2 separate regions of the Homo sapiens genome follow, and region 2 is linked to region 1. Evidence: promoter capture Hi-C in 16 types of primary human blood cells and fetal thymus (Javierre and others, 2016). All regions are on one chromosome and are shown on one strand. The core of a region is centred on a gene start or on the middle of the fragment in contact, and the rest is flanking DNA. Distances in the headings are between cores, read along the strand shown. Region 1 holds the start of IL12A (interleukin 12A). Region 2 overlaps IQCJ-SCHIP1 (IQCJ-SCHIP1 readthrough).

The links. Contacts are between HindIII fragments. The CHiCAGO score rates a contact against its expected background, and 5 or more counts as called.
Region 2: a contact is called between a fragment that was not itself captured here and the fragment with the promoter of IL12A in region 1, in 1 of 17 cell types (endothelial precursors). The highest score is 6.5, in endothelial precursors.

Annotation. Positions count from the first base shown.
Region 1 is chr3:159,985,003-159,990,088 of GRCh38, forward strand. It overlaps IL12A (interleukin 12A), which reads left to right and starts at 3,833. Exons shown (of 7, transcript NM_001397992.1): 1 at 3,833-4,172. The coding sequence starts at 4,157. It overlaps IL12A-AS1 (IL12A antisense RNA 1), which reads right to left. Exons shown (of 10, transcript NR_108088.1): 9 at 4,095-4,291. RefSeq lists enhancers at 1,492-2,691, 3,543-4,043, 4,044-4,544, 4,044-4,093 and silencers at 3,604-3,803, 3,874-3,923. The HindIII fragment of the contact is 5,775 bases long and covers 1,446-5,086 here.
Region 2 is chr3:159,260,340-159,265,425 of GRCh38, forward strand. It overlaps IQCJ-SCHIP1 (IQCJ-SCHIP1 readthrough), which reads left to right. Exons shown (of 10, transcript NM_001414413.1): 4 at 2,209-2,344. IQCJ (IQ motif containing J) reads left to right here. Exons shown (of 4, transcript NM_001042706.3): 4 at 2,209-3,408. The coding sequence ends at 2,392. Among named protein-coding and RNA genes, the nearest start is that of SCHIP1, 10 kb to the right of the region's middle. The HindIII fragment of the contact is 4,266 bases long and covers 582-4,847 here.

The DNA of each region.
Region 1 (5,086 bases), core at 2,583-5,082:
AAGGAATGCCAGAATACCCTTCAAAACAGCCATGTCAGCCTACTGGCATGGTGTGATATAATAGATCCTGTAGTCCCCCATTTTCCCAACACTTACCAGTATCCAGTGTTCTCAACTTGTCAGTCTAAGAGGTGTAAAGAGATATCTCATTCTTTTTTTCATTTGCATTTTCTGATATAACTGAGCCTCCAGGTATGCTCATTAGTCTTTGGGGTTTCTTCTCGTTAAATTGCTTATTCATGAGCTTTACGCATTTTTTACTAGTGTTTCTGTCTTTTTCTTGCTGACTTACAAGAGTTCCTTGTTTTTAGACATTGAAAATATTGGTTTTAGACACTGAAAAATATCTTCTCTCAATCTGTCAGCTGTCTGTTCATTTGGTTCATGCATAGAGGAAATGTGTAAAACAGAAATCTTCATTTTTATGTAATCCAATTGATAGGTATTTTGCCTTATGGTTTGGAGCTTTAGAAGTTTTAAAAAAGTCCTTCCCACTTATAAGTGACAAAGACAGTCCTCTATATTTTCTTCTACTACTGTAACAATTTTACTTTTCACATTTGGTCTTTAATTCACTTCCAAATGGATTCACCTCTGTTGTTTTAGATTGGAGTCCAGTTTTATTTTTCATCATACGCTGAACATTTTCTCTTTTTAAAAAAATTTTTTGTAGGGAGTTTTTGCTCAGACTGGCCTTGAACTACTGACCTCAAGCAATTCTCCTGCCTTGACCTCCCAAAGTGCTGGGATTACAGGTGTGAGCCATTATGCCCAGCCCATTGAGTATTTTCTACTAAATATTGCATGTTTTCCTCATTGATCAGGGAATCATCTGTATTATCTTATACTTAATACCCAAATATACAAATCTATCTATAATTTCTCTACTCTGTTTCAATGGTCCATATGCCTGATCTGTTGCAAAGATCACTACTTTAATTTCTATGGCTTTAAATTATGTCCATATGTGATAGGGTTAGTCCCCCTTTTCATTATTCCCTTAGCATTTTTACTTAAGGCCAGGAACAGCAGCTCACGCCTGTAATCCCAGCACTTTGGGAGGCCAAGGTGGGTGGATCACTTGAGCCCAGGAGTTTGAGACCAGCCTAGGCAACAAAACTAGACTCCGTCTCTACAAAATACAAAAATAAAAATTAGCTGGACATGATGGTGTTGCCTGTGGTCCAAGCTACTCAGGAGGCTGAAGTGGGAGGATCACTTTAGCCCAGGAGGTCAAGGCTGCAGTGAGCTGTGACTGTGCCACCACTACACTCCAGCCTGGGTGATACAGTAAAACCATGTCTCAAAAAAAATTTTTTTAACTTAGTCATAGATTTTATTACATCTGTATTTTAGAGTAGGCTTATTATTAAGTTTCTGAGAAAATTTATTTGTAGCTTGTATTGGAATTACATTGAGCATGTGAATTAACGAAAAGAGGCTTAAGCTTTCTATATAGAGAAACCTTCCACCCAAGGGTATAGAATTATTTAATTAAATCACACTATATTCTTGACTGAACTTTAAAATTTTTCTCCAAACACTATTCTGTAGTTATCCAAGCTCATGTAATAATCATAATAACTCTATACTGTAGGTACTTTTATTATCATCATTTAACAGATGAGGAAACTGAGCCCAGAGAGATAAATAACTCACCTAAGAACACACAGCAAGTAAGTAGCAGAACCTGGATTAACATAGTTTAGTCCATACTCTTAGCCATTATACTGCCTCTGTATCTACAGTCAGTTACTTTATAGTTTGGCTGCTTCTATGCATGTCATCTTGTTTTTATTACATTTTCTGATGGATTGTTGCAGATACAAAGAAAATCGGCTGATTTTTTTTAAGTTGATATGTGTATTGCATGATGTTGTTAAATTCTCTTCTTAGTTCTAATAGTCTATTAATTTTTTTTCTTTTTGTATATCAACTGTAAAAAGTGACAGTTTTACCTTTTCTTTTCCAATGTTTAAAGCTCTCATTTCTTTTTCTTTCCTTATAGCATTGGCCGAGACCTCCACGACAATGCTACACACTGTGAAGTAGTGATTGTGAGCTAAGACTGTCACTTATAGAAAAATCATGTATTCCTAGAAGAAGGTTTTCATTTCATCTTAGCTAGAGGACATGGAGCACTTCAGGAAACTATTTCACAAAAATGTAAATTAGAAACTGTGTCTGGTAGCCAATAATCCATTTTTAACAGTGGCCCTGTGCTCATCTAAGCAACAGAAATTACTTTTGTATAGGAGATGGCCCTTCCAGGGGAGAAACAGCTCAGTTGTGATACACTTGTCTTCATCCTGACTTTAAGTACATTTAACTCCACACTAAACCCTTGTGGCCACAACACAGCTCTGCACCTGTCATTTGCTCTAGACAAACTGCTAAACGCAATTGTTTCTGACAATGGATTACTCTGTATCCCGTGGGGGAATTCTCAGACAGCAGCATTAGAAGGGGCCTTAGAGATCAACCATTTCTCTTATTTTACACACACCTAAAACTCCCTACAGCCGTGCTTCATCAGCTTCGAGCAGATGAGCCACCCAGAAGGCAGCTCCAGTTATTAGGTCCTAGGGCCTGGGTGTAGTCAGGCCCTTTGGAAGCTCCAAGTCAGAGATCAAACACATCCTCCCCACTACCCACGCCTAGGGTGACTAATGCCTGTGGGAAAAACAACTGAACTAAAAAGTCCCACAGGAACCTCAAACCCAGCACATCCAAAATGGAACTTCTCACCATCTCCTCCAAACTCAGTCCTCTTATACAGTAATCCCTGTAAAGCTAGAACAATCTCCATTCCCCATTCTCAGGGCCTTCCTCTCCCGCTCACCTGAGGAGCTACCAAGCCTTGGCCCACAAGCCCTCTGAGAGTCCCTCCTGCCCACCCTGTGTTCTCCATACTGAATAAGGACTTGGCCACACCTTGTCAACTCTTCCCTCTGCTCTACTCCTGACCCCTGGATCCATCCTTCATGCTGTGGCTGAAGGGATCCCCCCATCATGCAAATTCTGCCACATCTCCCGCCTAAAACCCAGGAAGACTCCCCACTACTCTCAGCACAGAAAGTACACTCCTTAGTATGGCATCCCCTGCCCTCATGGCATGGCCCCATCCAGCCCTCCAGCCTCACACCCTGCAAGGACACCTAGACCCCCACCTCCCTCAACCCTTCATGACTGCGCTTCTGATCCCTGTTTCCCCTGGCTAGACCCTGCGTGCCCTCCCGCTGGAAGCGGTCTAATGCCTGCTTGTTTTTAACACTCAGGTTGGGGCCCCTGCCTGCTCCCGGGAGCCTTTGCTGACTCCTGGACCCCGTTGCTCCGGCTGAGCGTGGGCTCTTTCTCTAGGTCTTTCCTCCCAGGACTCTGTGTATTCATCCTATCGTTAAACTGGATTCTCTACAAGAGTAATAATTGCAGAGTCAGCCAGCTCTCATCCCTTTTCAGGTTTCAGAAAAGACCTGTGAACAAAACGCCTTGAGTCTGATTTAGTGTGGCAATGCCCCAAGGGTCCTGTTCTCCCTGGGTGTCCTGCACCTGGTGCAACGTCGGCCTGGCATCTAGTGAGCCATCTAAAGGAACGATGATGAGTGAATGATTTGCCTACCCCTTCCAGTACTAGGCTGGAGGTCGTGGTTAGGGCCCATCCCTACGCAGGACATGCAAAGTGGGAGGCACTCCTCTCTCTACGTCGGCAGGGGGCGCTGCACAGCTGCGGGGCGGGGTAGCTTAGACACGGGGCGTCCGGCTAAGGCCGGGGACCCAGGGTGGTGGGCGGGGTGTCCCGCCCGCCTGTGGACCCCGCGCAGTAACTGCGAACATTTCGCTTTCATTTTGGGCCGAGCTGGAGGCGGCGGGGCCGTCCCGGAACGGCTGCGGCCGGGCACCCCGGGAGTTAATCCGAAAGCGCCGCAAGCCCCGCGGGCCGGCCGCACCGCACGTGTCACCGAGAAGCTGATGTAGAGAGAGACACAGAAGGAGACAGAAAGCAAGAGACCAGAGTCCCGGGAAAGTCCTGCCGCGCCTCGGGACAATTATAAAAATGTGGCCCCCTGGGTCAGCCTCCCAGCCACCGCCCTCACCTGCCGCGGCCACAGGTCTGCATCCAGCGGCTCGCCCTGTGTCCCTGCAGTGCCGGCTCAGCATGTGTCCAGCGCGCAGTGAGTACTCAGCCCGCCAGGTCTTTGGCTCGCTCGGGTGCGGAGGGGCGGCTGCTTGGGAAGAGTGGGTAGAAACTCAAGTCTGCCTAAGGAGAGACTGGAACAGCAGCAGCCGTCTCCTGCAAAGAGGAATAAGAATAGGGGTCTCACCGTGTGCTAAATAGGGCATGTCTCTTTTCATCTCGAAACAGCCTGATGAGCTATCATTATGCCCACTTCGTAGAGGAGAAACTGAGGCCCAGCGTGGGAGATTTCCTGCTTTCCTGCCTAGGGTCCCTCAGCTACAAACAGAAGGCAGATCCTAGCCAGTTCTAAAGTCAGGCTTGGCCGGGTGCAATGGCTCACGCCTGTAATCCCAGCACTTTGGGAGGCCAAGGCGGACAGATCTCCTGAGGTCAGGAGTTCAAGACCAGCCTGACCAACATGGTGAAACCCCGTCTCTACTAACAAATACACAAATTAGCCGAGTGTGGTGGTGGGTGCCTGTAATCCCATCTACTCGGGAGTCTAAGGCAGGGAAAATTGCTTGAACTCGGAGGTGGAGGTTGCAGTGAGCCAAAATCGTGCCACTGCACTCCAGTCTGGGCCACAGAGTGAGACTCCGTCTTAAAAAAACAAAAAAAGTCAGGCTTTCTCACTCCACTGTTTTTAAAACACTGGGTCCCAAGTCTGACTCAGCCACTTCACCACCTGGTCTGGGTTTCCCTGATCAAAAACATGTAGGCTTTCTCTGGGTGAGTGTTGGGTTCAACACCCTTGTCCAAGCTCATCTCTAGACCCTCACAGGGAGCTGGCTTCTAGCCCTAGAATAGAGTGGCGCTTTGTAATAACTCGAGTCATCTCTCAGGTGTTGAAGGAAAAGTGTTGGAAATGGGTTGAGGGAGGTGGGTGCCAAGCATGAATGGATGGGTGAA
Region 2 (5,086 bases), core at 1,465-3,964, 730 kb before region 1:
AAAGGGAAAAAAGGACAGTGTAGAATACCTCAAAGTCCTATAAAGTTGTGGGTGTTCTATTGGTTGTCAACATTTTCTAATTTTTAGACAGCCTTTAAAATGTTACACATTCTGAGCTCTTGACGGGCAGGTTTAGAGACTTTAGGAACCTTCAAGCAGCAGAATTTGTTAGCTGGGCTCTGGGATACCCCAAGCAACTCAGAGGATGTGAACATCACCGACAGCTTCCTTAAGTTCACTCCTCTCTGATATAACGGGTCTTGAAGAAGCAAGAAGACCACCAAACTCAGGCAGGCAATCTTATGGGACTCCCTTTCCCATTCTGCTTAAAATCTTTAAGCCAAAGAAAAACAGAAATAAAAATGCACTTTGAGCAAGATTTCGTAATAAAACAGTGACCAAATATAATTCAAATTTGGGCCAGATTCTGCTTTAGTGAGGCTTGAAGTATGTATAATCTGAAGAGTCCTTTAAAAAAAAAACTCTAAAAGTATCTTATTTTTACAATTCTATACAAATCATGAAGAGCCCCTCATCAGGATCTTGGAAGAGGCTCCTGGCCTTTAAGTAAGAACCCCTAAAGCTTAAGTTTCCTAGCTTCAGGGAATTGGCTACTGACCCAAAAGTATTGTTTTCACTACAGTTGATGGACTTTTCCTTGAGCATTGTAATTCCCAGACCTTTAATAAATTAGGGAAAACATACAGATTCAATAATGTGGTCACATTTTTTTTGTTATTTATATGCTGTGACCATTGAGAATTGATGATCTTTGAACTATTCCAGCCAAATGAGAATAAATAAGTTTGTTGATTCAGAAACAACTTTAATGACATAGGTTGTGTGTGAAAGAATTACAGAGATCAGATGCTTCCAGGAGTTTAGAAGAGATAGTGATAGAATTAATACAGCTATCTTAAACTATTTTAAAAGGCTGAATCCTAACAACTAGTCCGCATGAACTGTTAACTCCCAGAAGAGGTTAGACTGTGTTCAGTGACCCCCCCTATGAAAATCGAGATGTTAATCTCAAAGATCACAAGCCAGTCTGATATGATTTGGCTCTGTGTCCCTACCCAAATCTCACCTTGAATTGTAATGATCCCCACATGTCAAGGGTGTGACCAGATGTAGACAATTGAATCATGGGGCAATTTCCCCCATGCCGTTCTGTTGATAGTGAGTTCTCAGGAGGTCTGGTGCTTTTACATGGGGCTTCCCCCTTTACTCAGAAGAGGTGCCTTCTGCCATGATTGTAAGTTTCCTGAGACCTCCCCAGCCATGCAGAACTGTGAGTCAATTAAACCTCTTTTCTTAATAAATTACCCAGTCTCGGGTATTTCTTCATAGCAGCATGAAAACGGACTAATACACAGTCCATGGGGGAATCACTTAGCTTATATTAAGAAGAGGTTTCCGTTATCCTGAGCAGAAGATAATTTATTTTTTCTGATACTAATCACAGAAAATAACTTCCTTAGGCGAAACCTGAAATAGCTGCCTAATGACATTACATTAATTCTCTGAGTAGTACGTAACACTTGAATAATCTTTGTCCATTTCTTTATTTATAATCTTTGTCCATTTCCTATTCCCTTCCACAGTATATAAAACCCATGATGTGGTGCTCTCGCCTGCCTTGTGCCCCACAGCAGGGCCACTGCATTTGGCCATGCAGACTGTGCTGCACATCACTGACACCTTCACCTTGCAGTCATGCAAAGGACTGCTCTGGAGCTGTGCACGGCAGAGTCCCTGTTCAGAGTCTACAGCTGACCCTGGCACAGAATGGCCCCTCAAAAATCACACATTGAGTGCATGCAGTAGTAGTCAGCCTATTTATTATTCTCATCTAAAATATAAGATGAAAAATTGAAAGAATTTGTTGTCTCATAAATCAAAGTACATTTACCTGTGCAAACTAGTTTGTTTTGACTGATGAATTTTATTATTAAGTTGACTCTTTTAGGCCGGTTGAGTGCAGTCAAGTCTGTGAAAGTCAAACCAGTAAGGTAGGGAGACAGTCTCCATGGCTGGATTGAAGTTAAAGTTCAGGTCTCCTGATTCACTACATCACATTCTGTATGTTCTACTTCCCTTGGCACCAAAGCCAATTCCTTCAGACTCCTTGTGAGTTTCTGAGTCTGTGGACCATGATCCAACAGTAATCATGTGTGTGCTGTTTTTTGTTTTGTTTTGTTTTTTCAGCATTCAGCGAGCATGGCGAGAGTACCTGCAGCGGCAGGAGCCCCTGGGGAAGAGGAGCCCGTCCCCACCCTCTGTCTCCTCAGAGAAGCTGAGCAGCTCTGTCAGCATGAACACCTTCTCCGACAGCAGCACACCCGTGAGTGTCATGTTTCTTTTTCTATGTCCTGACTTGACATTCAACTGAAAGCCTAGACTTTGGTTCTAAGAGAGAAATCTTGGGATGTGAGCAGGTGGTTTGTGACAGTGAAGATCTATGTAGCTTATTTGCTACCCAGGAACCCATGGTGAGAGTTTTGTCACCTCAAAATAAAGACACAATTCATAAGCACAAAGTGAACTTTATCAAGTCTGGAGAAAATAGATTGCATTTATGTGTTCTCATTTCTCTATTATGGAGGTATCTTTTTTGCTTTTCTTTATAATAGCATATTTCTTTTAGTATGTGCTGTGTGTTTCTTTTATTGTGTGGTGCTAATATGATAGAAGATAAGATTGGTTATAAGGAGTAGAAAGAGAACTTTTACCAGAAGAATTGAAAGTGGTCACACACTCAGGGGTTGCAACTTAAATGTCTCCAGGGGCCAGGTAAGTCACCCTCATGACTGAGGTGGCTGAGCTGTGCCCCTGGCTACACGGAGAACATAGACCTCACCTGAAGGGCAGCGCACTTGGCTCCTGACAATGTGACACCATGTGGCGATACAGGCAGGCATGGCCAAATGTGATTTTCTTTCTTCAGGACATGTCAGAAATCTGCATTTTTAAGTGTTAGCAGCCAGTAAGAAAATTTAAAAGGTAAAGTAAGCATGCCTACAGACCACAATTGACCTACAGGCCACCAGTTTAAGAAATCTGAGATAGAGAGTTAAGGAATAAGGGAATCTGCTGGAAGTCTTTATTTTTAAAAAACACCAAAAGTGGGAAGAAATCAGTGATGAGGGATTTATGAACCAGGATTTTGTGGATTTAAGCATTGTGATAATTTGTAACCAGTCACTGAAATGCTGAAAAGTTAGAGAAATGAAGTAATTACACAAGTATATTACTTCCAAAAATTTTTCTTTTACTTTTGGTTATCATGTTTATTCTGTGGTAAAAAGGTTTCCCAACACTCAACGCAATGTATTCTTTTTGGGATCAGGTAAAAGTTACTGTATTTGAAATGTTTTCAGATGGTTGCATTGCATATTCTTCAATAAATGGTTTTGCCTAGATATGGATTTAAAGAGAGAGAATAAGTTGAGTTTATAGCAGTGCAAATAAAAGTGGCAGAAGATCCATTTTTAATTGACAGCAGAAATTGAACATTTAGTGAATCTTCACTTTTTAAAACAATTATTTAGGGGAATGGCTTATCCTAACTGACCTCACTATCACTAGAGGGCACTCGTGAACTACACTGGAAAATGCCAGGGCTTCTCGTTTGTGTCTAACTCATGATTTGTGAGGTAAAAACTAAAGTGAGAATTGAATGTTTAAGATGTCTTTGCTGTAAATGCCAATAGAAAGTGCAAATTAGATGACTTTTGGATTTTATTTGAATGATGGAAACTCAATATTAGAAATCACTTTGTGAGTTAAATGTTTGGATTTACTTTTTTTGTACCTTCTCACAGCCCCAATTCACGACAATTCTCAATTGCTGCTGAATCCAGTGATATCTAAAAGTTTTAGTGTTGCTTTAGGGTGCTTAACCTTTCGGTTTTATTGGACTCCTATGAGAATATATGTTTGTTTTATATTTGTACGGCTGTACTGCTTCGATTCTAGCATAAGTGTTTTGTGCATAAATGCATGTTCTTCCCTGTTCATGAGTCATCAACTTCATTTATATCTCTGCACAGCTTCACTAACAGTTCTACTTTATTTAATTTAGCTTAGCCTCCTGATTCCTTGTTGGTTTTTAGTAGAAGATATTTCCTCCCTCAAATGTTCCCAGAAATTTGTTCTCCCATAAGGTATATCAGACTGAATTGGGGGTGCATCCTGTAGCCCCACCATATCATCATCCTTTAGCTCTGTGCTCATGTGCTGAGGATGACTGTATTCAGTGAATGGCAGTCTGGCTCACCCATGATTGCCTATAAAAAGTGAGAATCAATGCCTGTAATCCCAGCACTTTGGGAGGCTGAGGTGGGCAGATCGCTTGAGGTCAGGAGTTTGAGATCAGCCTAGCTAACATAGCGAAACCCTGTCTCTACCAAAAATACAAAAATTAGCTGGGTGTGGTGGCATGCACCTGTAATCCCAGCTACTTGGAAGACTGAGGCAGGAGAATGAACGGCTTGAAACCCAGGAGGCAGAGGTTGCAGTGAGCCGAGATTGCGCCACTGCACTCCAGCCTGGATGACAGAGGGGAAAACAAAAAAAAAAGAATTAGAATCAGAACAGATTTTCAAAAAGAATTAGCTGTCAGAAAGCAAGCAGGCCCTGCCCAGAATTCTAATAGAAGTTATTGATTATAACAATGACTTAAATATTGATAATGACAGTGATGTGACATTAAATGTAAAAAATAAAATATGAAAATATAAGATGTTGGGATGCTTCCAAGTCTCTGGTTTGTCACTTAGGTAAAATATCCAAGTCACAGTTTAAAAGAAAACTTTATATGTAGTTGTTTGGAGTTTAGTGAGCTAAGCTTGTTTTATCTGCTGTGATCATCAGTTTGCCAGGGCCCCTGTTGGGAAGATTCATCCTTACATCTCTTGGAGGTTGCAGTCACCTGGGGACAAGTTGCCTGGTGGAAGGAAGGTGATTCTTCTCTACCTTGACCAGCTTGCCAGACCCACTGGGTTCATACATACTCTCAAGGAGCCCCAGATAGAAAGACTTGGTTTTCTCACCCTCCAGTGAATGGACCTCAAGTTTATGGAGG